Linked DNA regions of Homo sapiens: regions 1, 2, 3, 4, 6 and 7 are each linked to region 5. Evidence: promoter capture Hi-C in 16 types of primary human blood cells and fetal thymus (Javierre and others, 2016). All regions are on one chromosome and are shown on one strand. The core of a region is centred on a gene start or on the middle of the fragment in contact, and the rest is flanking DNA. Distances in the headings are between cores, read along the strand shown. Region 1 overlaps EMSY (EMSY transcriptional repressor, BRCA2 interacting). Region 2 overlaps EMSY (EMSY transcriptional repressor, BRCA2 interacting). Region 3 has its middle 6.3 kb from the start of LRRC32. Region 4 overlaps UVRAG (UV radiation resistance associated). Region 5 holds the start of WNT11 (Wnt family member 11). Region 6 overlaps UVRAG (UV radiation resistance associated). Region 7 overlaps LOC105369392 (a long non-coding RNA gene).

Evidence for each region. Contacts are between HindIII fragments. The CHiCAGO score rates a contact against its expected background, and 5 or more counts as called.
Region 1: a contact is called between a fragment that was not itself captured here and the fragment with the promoter of WNT11 in region 5, in 2 of 17 cell types (megakaryocytes and M2 macrophages). The highest score is 7.5, in megakaryocytes.
Region 2: a contact is called between a fragment that was not itself captured here and the fragment with the promoter of WNT11 in region 5, in 1 of 17 cell types (megakaryocytes). The highest score is 5.4, in megakaryocytes.
Region 3: a contact is called between a fragment that was not itself captured here and the fragment with the promoter of WNT11 in region 5, in 1 of 17 cell types (fetal thymus). The highest score is 6.6, in fetal thymus.
Region 4: a fragment that was not itself captured here is called in contact with the fragment with the promoter of WNT11 in region 5 in 1 of 17 cell types (megakaryocytes); the score reaches 7.1 in megakaryocytes.
Region 6: a fragment that was not itself captured here is called in contact with the fragment with the promoter of WNT11 in region 5 in 1 of 17 cell types (megakaryocytes); the score reaches 6.1 in megakaryocytes.
Region 7: a fragment that was not itself captured here is called in contact with the fragment with the promoter of WNT11 in region 5 in 1 of 17 cell types (endothelial precursors); the score reaches 5.2 in endothelial precursors.

Annotation. Positions count from the first base shown.
Region 1 is chr11:76,507,881-76,510,580 of GRCh38, reverse strand. All of the region lies in intron 10 of EMSY (EMSY transcriptional repressor, BRCA2 interacting), which reads right to left. Among named protein-coding and RNA genes, the nearest start is that of EMSY, 64 kb to the right of the region's middle. The HindIII fragment of the contact is 1,204 bases long and covers 795-1,998 here.
Region 2 is chr11:76,524,598-76,527,297 of GRCh38, reverse strand. EMSY (EMSY transcriptional repressor, BRCA2 interacting) reads right to left here. Exons shown (of 22, transcript NM_001300942.2): 14 at 663-836. Among named protein-coding and RNA genes, the nearest start is that of EMSY, 81 kb to the right of the region's middle. The HindIII fragment of the contact is 2,918 bases long and covers 1-2,700 here.
Region 3 is chr11:76,675,738-76,678,437 of GRCh38, reverse strand. No RefSeq gene overlaps it. Among named protein-coding and RNA genes, the nearest start is that of LRRC32, 6.3 kb to the right of the region's middle. The HindIII fragment of the contact is 1,289 bases long and covers 774-2,062 here.
Region 4 is chr11:75,886,938-75,889,637 of GRCh38, reverse strand. It overlaps UVRAG (UV radiation resistance associated), which reads right to left. Exons shown (of 15, transcript NM_003369.4): 5 at 735-809. Among named protein-coding and RNA genes, the nearest start is that of UVRAG, 73 kb to the right of the region's middle. RefSeq lists an enhancer at 2,597-2,646. The HindIII fragment of the contact is 5,797 bases long and covers 1-2,700 here.
Region 5 is chr11:76,205,130-76,207,829 of GRCh38, reverse strand. It overlaps WNT11 (Wnt family member 11), which reads left to right and starts at 1,328. Exons shown (of 5, transcript NM_004626.3): 1 at 1,328-1,505. The coding sequence starts at 1,423. RefSeq lists silencers at 1-195, 1,176-1,415 and an enhancer at 204-871. The HindIII fragment of the contact is 7,460 bases long and covers 1-2,360 here.
Region 6 is chr11:75,903,828-75,906,527 of GRCh38, reverse strand. All of the region lies in intron 5 of UVRAG (UV radiation resistance associated), which reads right to left. Among named protein-coding and RNA genes, the nearest start is that of UVRAG, 90 kb to the right of the region's middle. The HindIII fragment of the contact is 6,083 bases long and covers 1-2,700 here.
Region 7 is chr11:75,712,082-75,714,781 of GRCh38, reverse strand. All of the region lies in intron 1 of LOC105369392 (a long non-coding RNA gene), which reads left to right. Among named protein-coding and RNA genes, the nearest start is that of MOGAT2, 4.4 kb to the left of the region's middle. The HindIII fragment of the contact is 1,414 bases long and covers 549-1,962 here.

The sequences.
Region 1 (2,700 bases), core at 147-2,646, 300 kb before region 5:
AGTGACTCCACCACCAAGCGAGGCAAACTGTGAGGACCTTTGGCTGCTCCCCAACCCCTTACCCCGACTCTGTGAGCACTCAGTGCGTAAAGCAGGGGTCTGTCAGAGAAGTCTGTCACTTACCCCACCCTAGATACTTCCTATTTCTGCAAGGTTCCAGTTTCTAAGGTCTGTATCAATGGCATTTTTATTTGTGAATCAATTATTACATTATACTATATTAATTAATTTTAGGCAAGGTCTTGCTGTGTCACCCAAGGTAGAGTGCAATGGTGTGATCATGGCTCACTGCCTTGATCTTCTAGGCTCAAGCAATCCTCTTGCCCCAACCTTCAGAGTAGCTGGGAATACAAGCATATGCCACCACACTCAGCTAATTTTACTATTTTTGTAGAGATAGGGTCTTGCTTTATAGTCCAGGGTGATCTTGAACTCTGGCTTCAAGCAGTCCCCCTGCCTTGGCCTCCCAAAGATCTGGGATTACAGGCATGAGCCACCAAACACAGCCAGTTTATTAATTTTTTTATTAGAGACAGCGTCTTGTTCTGTCACCCAGGCTGAAGTGCGGTGGCATGATGACTGTAACCTTGAACTCCTGAGCTAAAGCAATTCTCCCATCTCAGAATCCCAAAGCACTGAGATTATAGGCATGAGCCACTGCACCTGGTCTATATTTTATTTTTTTGAATAGAGAAAGCATTCATTAAAAACTGACCAGTATAAAAAGTTAGAGTGAATAACTTGTCCTCTTTCCTTGTCCTCTGTCTAGTTCTCCCTTGCCATTAACAAAAGCTTAGTTTCTTATATATTGTCAGAGTCTCCACAAATACAAGAAAATTTAAATATGGATTCTTATACCTCCCCTCTTTACACACTTGTAAAACATAACACATGCACCTTGCTTTCCCCCCCACCTTTAACAATGTATCTTAGAGATCTTTTTAATATAGTCAGTACATAAAATTAAATTGCTTCTTCATTCTACAGTGATACAGGTATACCTTGTTTTATTACACTTTGCTTTATTGTGCTTCTCAGTACTAGTGTGTTTTTTTGTTTGTCTGTTTGTTTTTGTTTTTTGTTTTTTTGAGACGGAGTCTCGCTCTGTTACCCAGGCTGGAGTGCAGTGGTGCAATCTTGGTTCACTGCAACCTCCACTTCCTGGGTTCAAGCAATTCTCCCTGCCTCAGCCTCCCGAGTAGCGGGATTATAGGCACCCACCAACACACCTGGTTTATTTTTGTATTTTTAGTAGAGACAGGGTTTCATCATGTTGGCCAGGCTGGTCTCGAACTCCTGACCTCCGGTGATCTGCACTCCTTGGCCTCCCAAAGTGTTTTTTACAAATTGAAGGTTCTGGCAACCCCACGTCGAGTAAGTCTATAGGCACCATTTTTCCAACAGTGTGCGCTCACATTATGTCTGTGTCACATTTTGATGATTCTCACAATAATTCAAAGTTTTTTTTTATTATTATATCTGTTACTTTAATCGGTGATCAGTGATCTTTGATGTTACTATTATAATTGTTTTGGGCCACCACAAACCATGCTCGTGTAAGATGATGTACTTAATCAATAAATGTTGTGTGTGCTCTGACTGCTTCACGAACTGGACATTCTCCCATCTCTCTCCCTCTCCTTGGGCCTGCTTGTTTCCAAAGACACAATGATACTGAAATTAGGCCAGTTAATAAACTTCATTTCTATGAAGGCCAGGAGAGTGAGGAATCTGCAGAAGAAAAGTTGGAAGCTAGCAGAGGTTGGTTCATGCGGTTTAAGGAAAGAAACCATCTACAGAATGTCAAAGTGCAAAACAAAACAGCAAGTGCTGACGGAGAAGCTGTAGCAAGTTATCCAGTAGATCTACCTAAGATCATTGATGAAGGTGGCTACACTAAACACCAGATTTTCAATGTAGACAAAATAGACTTTTATTGGAAGAAGATGCCATCTAGGACTTTCATAGATAAAGAAGTCAATGCCTGGCTTCAAAGCTTCAAAGAACAGACTGACTCTCTTGTTAGGGACTAATGCAGTTGCTGAGTTTAAGTTGAAGCTGATGTTCATTTACCATTCGCAAAATGCTAGGGTCCTTAAAAAGGATGCTAAATCTACTCTGCCTGTGCTCTATAAATGAAACAACAAAGCCTGGATGACACCACATCTGTTCACAGCATGGTTTACTGAAGGTTTTAAGCCCACTATTGAGACCTACTGCTCATAAAAAAAAAAAAAGATTCCTTTCAAAATATTACTACCCACTGACAATGCACCTAGTCACCCAAGAGCTCTGATGGAGATATACAAGATTAATATTGTTTTCATGCCTGCTAACATAACATCCGTTGTGCAGGCCATGAAACAAGGAATAATTTCAACTTTCAGGTCTTATTAAGAAATAAATTTTAGGCTGGGTGTGGTGGCTCATGCCTGCAGTCCCAGCACTTTGGGAGGCTGTGGCAGGTGGATTGTTTGAGCCCAGGAGTTTGAGACCAGTCTGGGCAACATGGTGAGACCCTGTCTCTACAAAAATTTTTTTAAAAAAATTAGCCAGGCATGCTATGGCTCATGCCTGTAGTCTCAGCTACTTGGGAGGCTGAGGTGGGAGGACTGCTTGAGCCAGGAGGTTGAGGCTGCAGTGAACTATGATTGTGTCACTGCATTCCAGCCTGGCTGACAGACTATGTCTCAAAAAAAA
Region 2 (2,700 bases), core at 161-2,660, 320 kb before region 5:
AGATTCTAAAAGTAAATTAGTAGTTTATAGGTACATTAATACCTCTTACAAAAATTCTAGGATGGCATTTCTCAACCGAAACTAATAGTGCTTCCCTCGATATTCTCAGAAAAGCAAAATACCTACAAAATAAACAGTAGCCTAGCAACATATGATTAGATCCTGAGCCTCAAATTCCAAGGCAAATTTTCAGAAAAGTTCCCTTATCTTCTATTGGTTAAAAAATAAATACAACTCTAGCTTATCTATTGTTCAAGGGTTCAAGCAAAGCTAATTTTATAAGTAAATAAAATGCTTTTGAAGGCCATGGTAGCTTATAAAAAGTAAATATTTTTCTTTGAGTGATTCTGAATGACTATGATCCTCCCTCAACCACCCCCCTCAAATCACAAAATACACCTTCAGCAAATTGTATTCCTAGGTAATTATTTCCCCATAATCTTTGCTGATAGCACAACATACACATTTAGGTATCTTTAAGAAAGTACTGAAAAGATAAATGAAGTTTTGACAATACTTGAATAATTAACACATTCAAACATAACTTTTAACAATCTGATTTCTTAAAGATTGCTGATCTTTTCCTTCAAATTTCTACCCGGGAATTATAAGAATTGAAAATATTTAAGAGCCAAGAAAAATCATCATATCTTATAGCATACCTGCGTTTTCCCTTGCTGCCCATAAACAATTTTTGTTGGGATGATTTTAGCTGCTGGTTGAACTGTAGAACCTATTCCTTTTGGCTGCGTTACAATCATTTTGGTGATGGGTCTTGTAGCAGTAAGGATAGCTGGCTTTGCTCCTGTTGGCACTGTCTGAATAGTCTTTTCTCCCTAAATTGAAGTCAATGATTATATAAGAGATTTATATGCATATAAATGATAAAGTCCTCTCACTGAAAAATCAGTAAGGTTTTACCAGGATGATGAAAAAAGGGCTGTAGATTATGTAACAAAGTATAATGTTTCCAGGAAATCAAAAATCGTAGACTTGGTTGAAATGATATAGAAAGTCATCTGACCAACTTTCTACCCAAAGAAGGAATTAATTATTCTCTGATGAGCGAATTTTAAAAAATTACCACATGCAAAAATACTTATTACACTATCCCATTAATGGAATACATATATTATAATAGTCAGAAAATTCTGGAAGAAGGTATAGTACACTGCTAATGCTTGTCTCTAAGAATTGGGATTATAAGTCTTAACCCCCACATACATATTTATTTTCTAATTTATCTGAAATAAGTATTTGTGTAATTAGAAAATTACTGTGCAATATACCAGTAGCTAAATGCACACACATAAAATACATCCCCTAAGTTCTACATATATGAAATTATAAGGATATATAGTAGAATGTCTACATGAAAAAGTATGGGCAAGCAAAATCAGCAGAGGTATTAACATTCTTTCTAAGGTTATATATAGGAAAAATTTGATGAACATATGCCATGAGGAAAGAATGTTATATATTGTTAATAATATATAAGGTTACATATAGAAAAAAAGGAAGGGAAAACTCAGAGTGCTTCCTATGTTTTACTATTCATATATTACTAATATCCTTTTAGTCTATTAACTAGATAGCTTATATCCATTAACTTTTCATCATTTTCTATACTTTCATCTACTTTATTCTTAAGTACCATTTTCTGGTCACTCATGAAATCAACATCTTTTTACATGAACTTAACTAAATTAAGTTCAAATACAGTGACTTTACTAAATTATTAAAATTTTTAAAATTAAAATCCATAAACTTAAGATGGAAATGAAAAGATTTGAGAATTTTCACCTCATCAGTTTTTCTTAATTTTTAGCCAGCATCATCTAAACGTGTGCCTATCTAAACTTAGCAGCCAGTAAAAACAAAGCACCCACGTGAGCTGGCTAAAAAGCAATCATTGTGAATTCAGAGCTAAATATAATTACAAAAATCACAATTTTAACTATCTGCTGTAATTACTTAAGGGAAACATGAAGCATCTGCCAATGGTGTTATTACTTATTTCAACACATGCATACTCTTCCCAGCACCATCTCTGGAAAGAGCTCTAGTTCATTTGCCAAGAGCCACTAGTTTGCAAGTGACCACACCTATCTATTAAATAGCTCAATGGACCCTGGCCAAGTATGACCCATTCAAGCCAAACAAAACCAACTAGCAGCCTGTTTTTCAAAAAAGCTCTTCTGATGTGTGTTGTGGGCATGCATAGGTGAGCAAGTGGTGAGTAGAGGTGATTGTGCCTATGTGGTCTTTGGCGGGGGTGGCAGTGGCAGAGTCTTGCTCTGTCACCCAGGCTGGAGTACAGTGGCAAGATCTCAGCTCACTGCAACCTCTGCCTCCCAGGCTCAAGTGATCCTCCACCTCAGCCTCCCAAGTAGCTGGGACTATAGGTGCACACCTTCACGCTAATTTTTGTAATTTTGTAGATACGGAGTTTCACCATGTTGCTCAGGCTGGTCTCAAACTCTTGGGCTCAAGTGATCCACCTGCCTTGCCTTCCCAAATTGCTGGGATTACAGGCATAAGCCTCCACACCCAGCCCAGAAAACGGTCTTATACGTTGATTTGCTTGTTTTACTAGAGCTGCCTGTGTCAAACGGTTGTTATCAGAGATATCTAACAGCTATGAATCATACATGACTCTTGGATCTTTGTGACCACAGGGCCTAGAATACAAAGCATCCC
Region 3 (2,700 bases), core at 169-2,668, 470 kb before region 5:
CTTGCTGCCATGTGGGGCCTGAGTGGATGAGCGGGAAAAGAGATCCTGGGCCAGGAAGCAGCCCTGGGGAAAGGGCCAGGGGAGAAAACGCCAGGCCGAAGAGGGAGTGAGAGCCGGGAGCTTCCACCTTTAGAAATCAGGTGGAGGAGGAAGAGAAGGGCCCGCAGCAGGATCCTGAAGGAGATGCAAGAGAGGAGAGAGGAGGGCCAGGAGGGGGTGTTCCAAGGTGCCACGGGAAGAAGGCCATTAAAGGAGGAGGGGAAGCTGTGAAGAACATAGCCAAGGGACGTGGACACTGTCCCTCGGTCCGGCCACAGCAGTTCTGCCATGGATGTGCTTGCTGGAATGAGGGGCTGGAGACAGGTGGAGAGTGGAGGCAATGGAGGCAGCAAGAGTGGCTTTCTTGCAGGTAGCTCCCTTGTGGGTCTGGCTAGGAGGAGATGAGAGGAGGGGGCCACAGCTGAAGGGAACCTGGAAGACCCAGAAGGGGCTTGTGAAACAGGGGCGTGTACAAGAGGGCTTGCCCAGAATGTTCCCCAGGAGGCAGGTGCTGCCTCTGCCAGCAGGAAGCACAGCCCATCCACCAGGAGGCCAGGTGGTCACTGATGCCAGCAGAGGCAAGTTTGGTTTTGGGAGTCAGGTTCAGGCCTCAAATCCGGGTCTCCTGACCCCAGCACCACAGGAGAGAAAAACCAGCAAGCAGGCTGAAGTCACACAGCCTAGAAGAGGTCAGGGAGTGGCAGCCCTGAGGCCACATAACCCCTTTTTAAGCTTCCAGACCTTCAGAGGGATTGGCTTGGGGACAAGGCCTGGCATCCATCCCTCAGGAGACAGGATGCAGTACTCTGCATTCTGAAGCCCCAGCCCAGCTCCCAGGGCCTGAAGCTCACAGCATCCCAGCTGGATTAATTATGAGATTCCTGGGAGGCCAAAGGAGTCTGTCTGACTAATTTAGCCCAAACTATGTCCTTTCCCCTCCTTTCCTTTTTCACTTCAGGAAACCAGCCCTAGTGGAAGCCACTTGACTTATGTGTGGTCTGCTTCTGAGAAAAATCAGAGTCACAAGCCACGCGAGATGACAGCCTAGTTCCCATGACCATGTGCACCTGTGCCTGTGTGTACAGGCATGCTCACGTGTGTGCGTGTGTGCACGTCCATGCACACAGACGAGAGGCTTATCTGTGCTCTCTGCTGTGTGTGCACTGGGTTTGGGGAGCCTTGGTATTTTAAGTCTTTATTGTACATACTGGATGTGAGCTGTGTTTGTGTGCAATGTGTCTGGTATGTTTGTGAGTGTGGTGTTCGTGTAGGATGTATGGATATAGTGTGTGTACACGGTGTATGCTCAATGTACATGTTTGTGTTGTGTTTTGCACATGTGTTTAATTGAGAGTTGGATTTGTGCAGGATGTATGTAACCATGTGTGGTGACTGTGTGACTTTTGAGGGCGTCTCTGAAATGTCTGAATGTTTGTGAATCGTGTGTGTGCCTACGTGAAATTCGTGTATGAGGTCGATGCATGCTTGTTGCTTTCGTGAGTCGTGGCCCTGTGCATCTCATGTTGCCTCTGAGGGTGCATATGAAGGATGTGTGTGTGGCTGTGGCTGGGCTGTTGTTGCAGGTGCACTATGTCTGTGGGGCGAGTGCATGTGGCTCTCATCAGCAGGTGGAAAAATGTCATAGGGGAAGGGGGTGAAAATCCAATGTAGCAGAGAGGGCAGCCCCCTCTTGCCTCCTCCTTGCCCCTGTAGAGCCTCAGCTTCCCCTCAATGGATAATACTTGAAGGACTCTAGGAAGATCCTATGGTCATGAGGAAGCTGGCAACATGACTAGGACAAGATGGGGGCTCTGTGACCTGTGCCTAAGAAGACCCTGTCCCAGTGACAACTGGGTGTGCCCAGGCCTTCGCCCCCTCACTTGCCCCTTGAGGGCTTCCACCTGCCCCCCTGAGGAACGCTGTACCCTCATGCTGCCTACCCATACTGTCCCTGAGGGGCAGCCACAGCTACATTCTAGGCAGGTTTCCTCCCTACATCCCCTGACCACAGCCAGGGAAAGCTTGAAAACCACTTCTCTCTCCCTGAAACAAACCAGCACAAAGACCATAGCTGCTGCCAAAACCCTCAAATGCTGACCGGGGCAGGGAGCACCGCAAGCTGTGCCATTGACTGGTGAGGAACAGCTTAATACAAACGCACTCACCCTTCAAACTGCCCTAGTGGTCCATTGTCCATGGCTGCCCTCACTCTACTGGGTTCAGAGGTGAGGCCACCAGCCCAAAGTTACACAGCAGTGAGTGGCGCAGCGAGGATGGGAATGCGGGTGGGTCTCTCTCCTAAACCCAGGTTGCTTCTCTTCCTCCGTTCTGCCCTTCTCAGTCCCCTCCTCACCCCACCTAAGATGGGAGGGGGAACACAACTACACACAGAATGTTTAGATAATTTGCTCTTTGGGCTCATTAATGCTCCTTCAAGTGACGAAATGATCGAGTATTCAGTGGGTAGGCGCTGGAGCCCCACTGCCTGGACTCACCTGTACTGGCTGTGCAAGCTTAAGTTAATTACTCATCCTTGCTGCATTTCCTCATGTGTCATCTGCAAAATGGAGCTGCTGCTAATAATAATAATAATAATAATAATATCTACCTTCTTGGGTGTAGTTAAGGATTGAATGGCTTGCAATATGACAGCTGCATTAG
Region 4 (2,700 bases), core at 82-2,581, 320 kb after region 5:
AAGAGCTATGAAGCAACATGATCACTAAGAGCAAATAATGCACAGGGTTGTTGGGTAGAACACCATAGTAGAATAGAAAAAGCACAGGCTTTAGAGGCAGGCAACCTGAAATTTCAGCTCAGCTACTTTCTAGATGGGTGAACCTACGAAGCTCATCTCAAACAACTTTTTTCCTTAACTATAAAATGGAGAGGACAAAACAAACCACATTGGTTTTGGCTAGTATTAAGTGAGGAAAAGGACAAGAATCACCTGGCACAGTACCATAGATAGTAGGTACTTGGTAAATGTGAATTCGCTTCCCTTTCCTTTCTCTAATAACTTTTAGATGTAGAGATAATGCTGACTATAAAACAACCGATTCATAGTTTCTTAAATGTATTGAAAGTTATAAAAGATATCTGAAACATTTCATAAAACTGTATTGCATTTAATCAAAATTCACCATCCTTTCTTAACCCCCAAAGAGTTATGTAGAATAAGAGAAAACAGCTAGCTCCAGATTTCCTGTAGAAAAATTAATATAATCTGGATTTAGAAAAGATGGACTGGATGGTTATGTGCCTTACAGAATGAGTTTTCCCATTAAAAAGCATCCACCTTAAGCCACACTAAGCAACAAATTTAAAGCATGATTCTATTTACACAGAGTTTTCAGGATTATATCTACCCTGTACACCTGCAAGGCACACCTGCACTAAACAAAATTCATAACATTAGAAGGATCTTCTTACCTTATGTTCAAATGGAGCACCATAGTATCCATCATTCAGCCCAAAAATTATTTCATTTTGGTTTCGGGCATGAATCTAAGAGAGGAGGAAAATACAGTATTTGTTATTTTTATTCCGATCATGTTTTAATACAACCAGAGAATGACAGTTACAACAGGATCTACTTCAATACTGAGAAACCGGCTGACTACATCTAAACATACTAGCAGAAAACCAATCACTATTCAAAAGACCAGGTGATCAATTCAGCATTTCCTGCTTTAGTCAAAGGCCTTGCAAAACTATCACATGCAATCACAGGCACCATCACTCACATATCTTTCACAAACATTTCTTGAGGTTGTTATGGAATGGCTATTCCTGAACAATAGGGTATTCAGAGGCATATTCTACCCTCTCTAACCCCAAAGAAAACACAATTTATTAATTCTAAAAGTATTTTTTTTTAACATGAAGCCTAGGCCTGGCACAGTAGCTCACGCCTATATTCCCAGCACTTTGGGAGGCAGAGATGGGCAGATAGCTTAAGCTCAGGAGTTCAAGACCAGCCTGGGCAACATAGCAAGACCTCTTCTCTACAAATAACAATAACAATAAAAAATATTAGCCGGGCATGATGGTGCACGCCTGTGGTCCCAGCTACTCGGGAGGCTGTGGTGGGAGGACTGCCGGAGCCTGAGTGGTCAAGGCTTCAGTGAGCCATGATCACACCACTGCACTCCAGCATGGGTGAGGGAGCACAACCTCGTCTTAAAAATAAGAAAAAAAATGAAGCCCTAGAAAAACATAAAAGATTAATATATTCTATTTTCAAAAAGGCAATTTTTAAAAAAGCAATAGTATCCAATCCCTAAAGTCTTAAATGTCTGCAAACCACTCTCTTTTATTACTGTCTGCAAACCACTCTCTTCTATTATTGTCTGCAAACCACTCTATTTCAGATGAGGTGAGCTGCAGTCATTGCATCCCAAATTAAACTTCATTTAAAAGGTGGAAGAATAAAACTTTAAAAATTAAGGAACTGAGGCCAGACACCGGTAGCCTGTAATCCCAGCACTTTGGGAGGCCGAAGCGGGCGGATCACTTGAGGTGAGAAATTCGAGACCAGCCTGGCCAACATGGCGAAACCCCGTCTCTACTAAAAATACAAAACTTGGGGCCCGGCGCAGTGGCTCATGCCTATAATCCCAGCACTTTGGGAGGCCAAGGCGGGTGGATCACGAGGTCAGGAGATCGAGACCATCCTGGGTAACACGGTGAAACCCCGTCTCTACTAAAAATACAAAAAATTAGCTGGGCGTGGTAGCGGGCGCCTGCAGTCCCAGCTACTCGGGAGGCTGAGGCAGGAGAATGGCATGAACCCGGGAGGCAGAGCTTGCAGAGAGCCGAGATTGTGCCACTGCACTCCAGCCTGGGAGACAGAGCGAGACTCCGTCTCAAAAAAAAAAAAAAAAACCTGCGCCAGGCACGCTGGTTCAAGCCTGTAATCCCAGCACTTCGGGAGGCCAAGGCGGCGGATCACTTGAGGTCAGCAGTTTGTGACCAGCCTGGCCAACATGGTGAAACCCCGTGCCTACTAAAAACACAAAATTTAGCCGGGCATGGTGGCGGGCGCCTGTAATCCCAGCTACTCGGGAGGCTGAGGCAGGAGAATCGCTTGTACCCGGGAGGCGGAAGTTGCAGTGAGCCGAGAGCACGCCGCTGCACTCCAGCCTGGGCGACCAAGCAAGACCTTGTCTCAAAAAAAAAGAAAGAAAGAAAAAGAAATTAGCTGGGCGTGGCAGTGCACATCTGTAATTCCAGCTACTAGGGAGGCTGAGTGAGGCAGGAGAATTGTTTGAACCCGGGAGGCGGAGCTTGCAGTGAGCCGAGATCACGCCACTGCACTCCAGCCTGGGCGACAGAGCGAGACTCCGTCTCAAAAAAAAAAAACAAAATTAAGGAACTCAGATTAAAAAAAAAACTC
Region 5 (2,700 bases), core at 79-2,578:
AAAAAGCGGAGATAGCTGCTCCGCGGGCTGCGGGCGGGCGGGGCAGCCTCTCCTCCGCGGCCCGAGGGCGCCGCCTGGAGGCCAGAGGCAACACCGCGCCAGCCCCGCGAGCTTCCCCGCTTCGCTAAGGCGGGGCTGCCCAGTCCCAGCCCGCATGCTTCCACTCCCACCCTCCAAAGTGGAGCGGCTAAAGACGGACTTGGAGACTCGGAATCCTCACTGTACAAAGAGCCCTACCATCCCGTTTCCCATCCTCCCCTTCCCACACCGAGAAAGCAGGGCCCCGAGCAAGCCCCATTTCCTGATTTCGCCGGACACCCGGCTTGCCGCTCCCTAGCTGAACCCCACCTCTGTGCCTCAGTTTCCTCATCTGTGAGATGAGGCAGCGATAGTGCCTATCTCACGGGGTGCTGGGAGGAGCAGATGCGATCGTGTTAGGGAACTTTTTTTGTTTGTCTGTTTGTTTGAGACGGAGTTTCGCTCTTGTCGCCCAGGCTAGAGTGCAGTGGCGCAATCTCCGCTCGCTGCAACCTCCGCCTCCCGGGTTCAAGCGGTTCTCCTGCCTCAGCCTCCCGAGTAGCTGGGATTACAGGCGCCCGCCACCACGCCCGGCTAATTTTTTGTATTCGTAGTAGAGACGGGGTTTTGCCATGTTGGGCAGGCTGGTCTCGAGCTCCTGACCTCAGGTGACCCGCCCGCCTCGACCTCCCAAAGTGCTGGGATTACAGGCGTGAGCCACCCTGCCCGGCCAGGGAACGTTCTTTATAAAAGCGGAATTGTGCCCGAATTGCCCCAGCTTACTGAGGAGGTAAACTGAAACACGTTTGGGAAGGAGAATTGCCGAGGCCCTATTAACTAATGCTCAATATTGCAGGGATAAGCCCCAGCTCCGGGTCCTCGACTCTGCTGCCTCGCCTGGACTCCTGATTCCTCATTCCTCTCCTTTCCGTCCCAGGTTGCGTCTGTCCGGGTTTCCCCCTCTGTCTCCGTGGCTCTCAGCCTTGTCCTCTGAGCGTCCTTCTCCCTCTCGCTGTGTCTGCCCGGTCTCTCCTGGGTCTCCGGTTCTGCCGCCTCCTGTCCCTCCTTCCGGCTGCCCCGGCCAGAGGGGCTCGAAGGCGCGTTGGGGCCCGGGGCCACGCTGGGAGACACGCCTTCGGCCGCGCCTAATTCGAGCCAGGCGCGGGACGCGTCCCCCGGCCGGGCGGAGCGGGAGGGGACGCCCGCCGCGCTCGGCCTCCCCGGGCCCCGACCCCTCCTTTGTAATTTGAATAAAACGCCTCCCCCGCCCGCGCGCCGCCTTAACCCGCCGCCTCCGCTCTCCCCGGCTGCAGGCGGCGTGCAGGACCAGCGGCGGCCGTGCAGGCGGAGGACTTCGGCGCGGCTCCTCCTGGGTGTGACCCCGGGCGCGCCCGCCGCGCGACGATGAGGGCGCGGCCGCAGGTCTGCGAGGCGCTGCTCTTCGCCCTGGCGCTCCAGACCGGCGTGTGCTATGGCATCAAGTGGCTGTGAGTAGGGACCCCGCGTCCACGCGCACAGGCCAGGGACTGGGGCGGCGGAGGGCGTTTTGGGGTCCCCTGGATGGGGCGAGCGCACCAAGACCCGGGAGCCTAAGCTGGCTTGGCGGTCGTGGGCAAGTCATCCCTCAGCCTCTGTTTCCTCCTCTGTAAAATGTCCCTGCCTCCCGCAGGCTTGCGAAAAGGGAGTGAGACGGGCGTGGACCACAATGGAAGCGCCTGGTCCTGTGCAGCTGACGGTGGCGCAAGGGCCACGGAGTTTCTGGCCACCTCCGCAGGGGCAGATGGAAAAAGACATTCTGTTCAGGGGGCGCAATCCAGAGCGGCCAGCCCAGGAGCGGTCCTTGTCCGTCAGTCTCCTTGACCCTAGCGGGAGTTCCGCTGAGACACTCCTGACCCCTCCACCTGGGCGACCTTGGGAAAGTGTCACTCTACTTCTTGGGGCCTCCTTGTCCTCCTCTGTCACGGGAGGGTGAGACTCCCCACCTCCCTCAAATCAGATGAGAAGAGGCTCCTGAAAGGACCTCAGAAGCTGTCAGATGCCACTGTGCACATGTGCAGGGCATTCCTTTAGATAGAAATTATTCACGCAGGGGTAGGAGGGAGAGAGAGGCTTGGTGCCGAGCTGAAGGGAGTGCCTGCTCAGGGGGCTGGGGGTGGTGAAGAGAGGAGTAAACACCAGCCCCTTCCCGGAGGAGCTGCGCTCTAAGTTGAGAGAGATAAGCCCAGGCTGTAAATAACTCCACAAGTGTCCAAGTGCCCGAGGAGAAACCAGAGCGGGAATCTGGAGGCCTAGAGGAAGGAAGCCCACCTGGTGGGGACACAGATGTGAGACACCGGGAAGCTTTTCCGAGGCTGTGCCTCTGGTGACTGAAGCGCTGCTGGGAGTTGGCTGGTTCGGGCAATGGAGAGGACGCTGTGGGCAGAGGGGCTCCCTGAGAGGGAAAGTCCAGGACAGGACAAGGGTCTGGAATCTGGGGCCAGGGCAGGGAGCCTGCAGATAAGACAGCAGGGGGCAGGTTGTGGGGGCTGGGGAGGGCGCTGCAAAGGGTTTGTGAATTAGTTGGAAGACAGGGTGATAGTGGCTGCGCCGCCAGCAAACAGTCTGGAGGTCACTGGCCCTGCCCCTTCTCAGGCCAAGTTATTGATTAATTGACGATTCGAGGAGGGAACCCCGTCTTCCTGC
Region 6 (2,700 bases), core at 102-2,601, 300 kb after region 5:
AAAAATACAAAAATTAGCCAGGCATGATGGCACGCGCTTGTAATCCCAGCTACTCGGGAGGCTGGAGGCAGGAGAATCACTTGAACCCAGGAGGCAGAGATTGAAGTGAGCTGAGATCACGCCACTGCACTCCAGCCTGGGCAACAGAGTGAGACTCTATCTCCAAACAAACAAACAAACAAAAAAACCCACTATAAAGCTAAAAAAAACCTATAGAACTATTAGAAGAAAACACAGGGGTTTATATAACCTTGGATTTACCAATCTATTCTTAGATATGATATAAAAAGCATTAGTACAAAAAAATCAGTAAATTATACTTCATTAAAATCAAAAACTTTTGTGCATCAAAGGACACTATCAATTAAGTAGAAAAAGAACCCAACAGAATGGGAGAAAATATTTACAAATTGTATATCTGACAGAGGTCTAATTTCCAGATGATATAAAGAACTCATACATTCAACAGCAAAAAGACAACTCAATTTTAAAATGGGCAAAGAACTGCAAGAGACATTTCTCCAAATAAAGACATACAAATAGCATAACAAACAAACAGAAGATAGTGAGGATGTGGAGAAATGAGAACCCTCACATATTGCTATTAGGAATGTATTGGTCAGCCACGGTAAAAAAAAAAAAGTTTAGCAGTTCCTCAAAAAGGTAATCATAGAATTATAATATGACCCAGCAATTTCACTCCTAGGTACATACCCAAAAGACTGAAAACAGGGACTCAAACAAACAGTTGTACACAAATGTTCACAGCAGCACTATTCACAACAGTCAAAAAAAGAGAAACAACACAAATGTCTATCAACAGACATGAATAAACAAAATGTGTGTGTGTGTGTCTCTGTGTGTGTACACATGCAATAGAATATTACTCAGCCCTAAAAAGGAATGAAGTACATTCCTTCCTACATGTAGATGCAACACCAAAACATTACACTAAGTGAAAAAAGCCAGAACAAAAGGTCACATACTACATAATTCAATTTGTATGAAATACCCAAAATAGGTAAATCCATAGAGATGGAAAACAAACTGGTGTTTGCCAGGGGTTTGGAGGACAGCAAAATAGAAAGTGAGCACTTCATAGGTACAAAGTTTAATTTGGGGATTATGAAAATGTTTTGCAACTTGACAGAGATGGTGGTACACAACACTGTGAATGTACCCAGAGCCACTGAATTGCACACTTCAAAACAGTTAATTTATGTTACATTAATTTCACTTCAATTTTAAAAAATGGATGCTAAGAAATAATCAATACATTTTAAGAGGAGATGAGGAGAAAAAGGACAGAGGAGACAGTCTTATAAATCAGCAACAAAATCCAAATAATAGAAGACTTGAGAAGTAGATTTAAGATTCTCAGGAGAAATAATTAATGATGTTCTACTTAGCTTTTCTTATTTTACGGAAAAAGCTGCCAAATATTTTTTCTTACTATAAAAAATTTATCCACACCCACCGACATACAACTAAAAGCCACACTTTATAACAGGGAAAGAACATTCAACTGAAAGCTAGAATCCTGGGTTTTAATCTACTCTGCCTATCGCATAAGTAAGGAAAATAATTTAACTCTCCTAGGCCTCAGTTTCTTTAATTATAAAATGAGATGCAACTACTACTAATAAAAACAGTAATAAAAAATAACAGCAATATAAAAAGTAATGTTTACATGCATTTACAGTGTGGCAGGCAGTATTGTATTTTACATGTCAACGTTAGCTGTTAATATGTTAAATGTTAACACATTTAATACTCACAAACCCCTGTGAAACAGGTGCTATTAATATCCCCACTTTAAAGGTGTGGAAACTGAGACACAAAGAGGATTAAAGAGAAGAGCCATGCAGTCTGGCTCCACAGCCCGTGTTCTTAAGAACCAGGCTATACTTGATGATCTCTAGGACCTTTTCCAATTCTAAAAATTCTGAGTCCATGTACATTTAAGGCAATTTAAGGACATTATTAAGCCCTCCTGTTTCAGCCATCACTTAGCAATTAACATTCTTGAAATATGCTAAGAGCCTTGTTCTGAATGACATCTAACTTCACCAGATGTTCGATCCCAACAGACTTCTGATGAAGGATTATAATGGAAAGAAACGGCTCATTTGTATCTGGTTATCTGTGTGAGATACTGCCAAGTGCCAAAGAGCCCAGAAGAGATTTACATGTCACTCAAAATTCTTCTGAAGTCAGGCCTAACAATTCTTCAAGGAACAGAATAGTAACAAGTCTGGGTGAGTGCCTATTAAACTGCTCAGGGAAATAGATAATTTAACATATCCAATGAGCAGGAGTAATTCCAGGCAAGTCAGGTGTATTTCTAGATGAGTGGTCAGCAAACTTTTTCCATAAAGGGCCACATAGTAAATGTTTTAGGCTTTGCAGGCCACATGTCATTTCTGTCACATAGTCTTATTTTTTCTTTAAAATTCTTTAAAAATGTAAAATCATTCTTAGTCGCAAGCTATACAAAAATATGTGCTGGACTACAGTTTGCTTATCCCTGTACTAGTTCATTGGATGAGTCACGTTTTAAAACATGTTACTATATATTTTGAGAGTTTTTAGCTGCAACAACACAAGACTGTCCTTAACTTCATTAAAACTACAAAATGTATACAGAAATAACGCAGTTAGTAGGATAACTGATTAGGAAGCAAATAGCATTATACATAT
Region 7 (2,700 bases), core at 6-2,505, 490 kb after region 5:
AAGATGTCCTTTGATGAACAAACATTTTTTCAATATGTCATATTTTCCAGTCTTTTATAAAATACACATTGTTTGGTTGGATCTAGGAAATCTTGTCTTACTTATACATTTCATTAAAAATTTTGAAGTTTTGTTTTTTATATGTAAGTCCTAATTCATCTGGATGTTTAGATAGTATGAGTTAGGTTCCAATCTGAGCTTTTGACATGTGGATAAGCATTTTTTTTCAGTCTCTTTGTTGAACACTCCCTCCGTTCCCCACGATATGTTATGCCACCTCTGTCATGTGAGACAGTTCTACGGATGCGTGGTCCGTGTATGGGCTTTTATTCTCTCCTGTTTGTCCTCTTATCTATCTCTGCCAGCACCACACTGTTTTTAAGAGCCCTCAGCTAAATTAGAGTTCCGGTACCGGAGCAGCTAGCAACACTGCCTGAGCGGGGTGGGGTTTTACAGTATGTTTTCCATAGGATACTCCCTTTACCTGGGGGACAGCCTAATGCCTAGTTGTCCGACCCACAACCAGGGAGTCCCTCACACAGGAAGCTTGTTTATAGTGGCAGATGCTCTGGATTCAGAAAAGGTTGTGTAAAAAAAGTTAAAAAGAAAAGGAAAATACATTGGCAGATGCCCTGATGGTTCTTATCAGATCTGTGTCCAATTTATGTCTGCCTGACCATTACTTGGACTCTGGGAGCCATCGGGGTAGTCTCTGGTTCTTCAGATAGAGGGTGCAAATTTAATACACCCCACAATAAAAAATATGTTCACTAACTTATTACTTATGAATCCTGGACAGGGAGGGTGCCGTGAGTCACGAAGGCAGTGCTCCATCCTGGGGTCATGAATGCAAAGTCAGGCAGAGAGAGAGAGAGAGAAACCCCACAACTAGTGGTAGATATAAGGGAATGGGGTGTAAGTCACTTAAAGTTTGCAGGCAAATACCTGAATTGTCCCTTTAAAGGAATCAGTGGCAAAGCAGAAAGCCCATTGGGCTGGGCTGGAGAGATGCCTCTAAGTTCTGAACTCTGGCCCCCCGTTTGAGACATTTGGGTGTGCCAGTCTATTTCTATGACTAGACAGCAACCTTTTCTGTGTGTTCCTGTTACAACTGACCCTGTGATGCCTGGGCATATGACCTTGTGTTTGGTGACGACTACTGCTTAAATAGTGGAGACATTGAAGGCTACTGGAGAAATGTGGGCCAGGCATGGAGCAAGGCATTTGATGAGCATCACTGAACACACAAACAATGTGGAGGCACCACTGTGACCTTAAACTCCACTCACAGGCATCCACTCCACTGTGTGGGGTTGAGCCAAGTGAATAGAGCAACCCTTCACCTAGGGCAAAGTAGGAAGGTTGTTGTGAACCCGGGTAAGGTTATAAAATACTTGTTATCTGTTGTGCCATTGCTTCTAGATTGGCTTTCACCAGGCTAGAGTTTTGTTGAGGTATAGAGCTGTGTGGCAGTGTACCTTTGAGCAGAGAGCAAGGAGTATACCAAGATCAGGAGCTAAGCAGGCAGTCAGTACAGAAAGAAAAGCAAAACTACACACTGTCCATTTGTGTGTTAGCAGAGCCAGTCCATGGGCATCACTGGAGTAGAGGTTTAGTGTAAGAAGTGAAGCCGTCTGTGGCACCAGGGGCAAAGCTATCTCCAACATCAAGGTCTTGGGTTCAGATGTGTCATCTGAGGCAATGTCACCTTCAGAGGTGAATTATAAGGCAAAGGTAATGTCATCTGAGATGTGGGACAGGTGTGTCCTTTTCATGGGGACCTACTCGAGTTAACGTGGGCCTCAGCACTTGTCATAATTGCTGAGGTTAAAACGGTGGTCTGCTGAAGGTTTTGGGCCTCTGATTGTAACCAGTGAAGCAGGCAAGGCAGTAGTGATAAGACCAACCAACAACAGGACAGTGTGCGGCTGCACCTGACAGGGTTTGTTTTGCGTGGAAGCTTGGGTTCAAATGGGTCCCCTATCAGAGGGGCAGCTAGCTGCCTGATCTAAGGAACAATCTATGGTTATGAGTCCCAGGAGTATATGCATCTTTAATCTGGCCCCTAACCCTTGAGGGATGGGGGAGAGATTGAAATTTATAAAGAATAGGTTAAGACCTGGGGTAAACTCAAGATCTTTAGTGTATTTATTGTATTGGAATTTGAAAAGAAGTTGTTTGAGGACATCATTAGAGCAACCATTGGGACCTATCAGGGACATGAAGTTTATATTGGATGCCTCCTCTGGAAGCCCAGCATAGTGGTGTATTCTAAGGAGTGAAATGTGTGCCTTCATAGCTATTAGTAATGTCTCTAACTCTGAAAGAAACAAGCAGTGAACTAGCAAGGCCTTGCAACATGGAGTTATGTGATTTTGATTTATAATTTGATGTCTGTGAAATAAGAGATTCCCGGGGTTTATTTGCTTTTTACCTTGATGGGAACAATTTTTAGGTAATGGCCCAATAATTAATAATGAATGTGAAGATGAGACCATTTGTTAGCCAGGACAGCCAGGGCTAGGATGACTTCCTGAAGTTTGACCAAGTGTGTTTTTTCTTGGGTCCTGTCCTTCATCATCCTGGCTAAGGGATGGAAAGGAACAGCTCTCCACTAAGCTGCATCACGTGTGATGGCTAACGATGCCGTTCCTACAGTCCATGAACTCCCATTCCTGTTCACTCAGTTAACACCAAAGG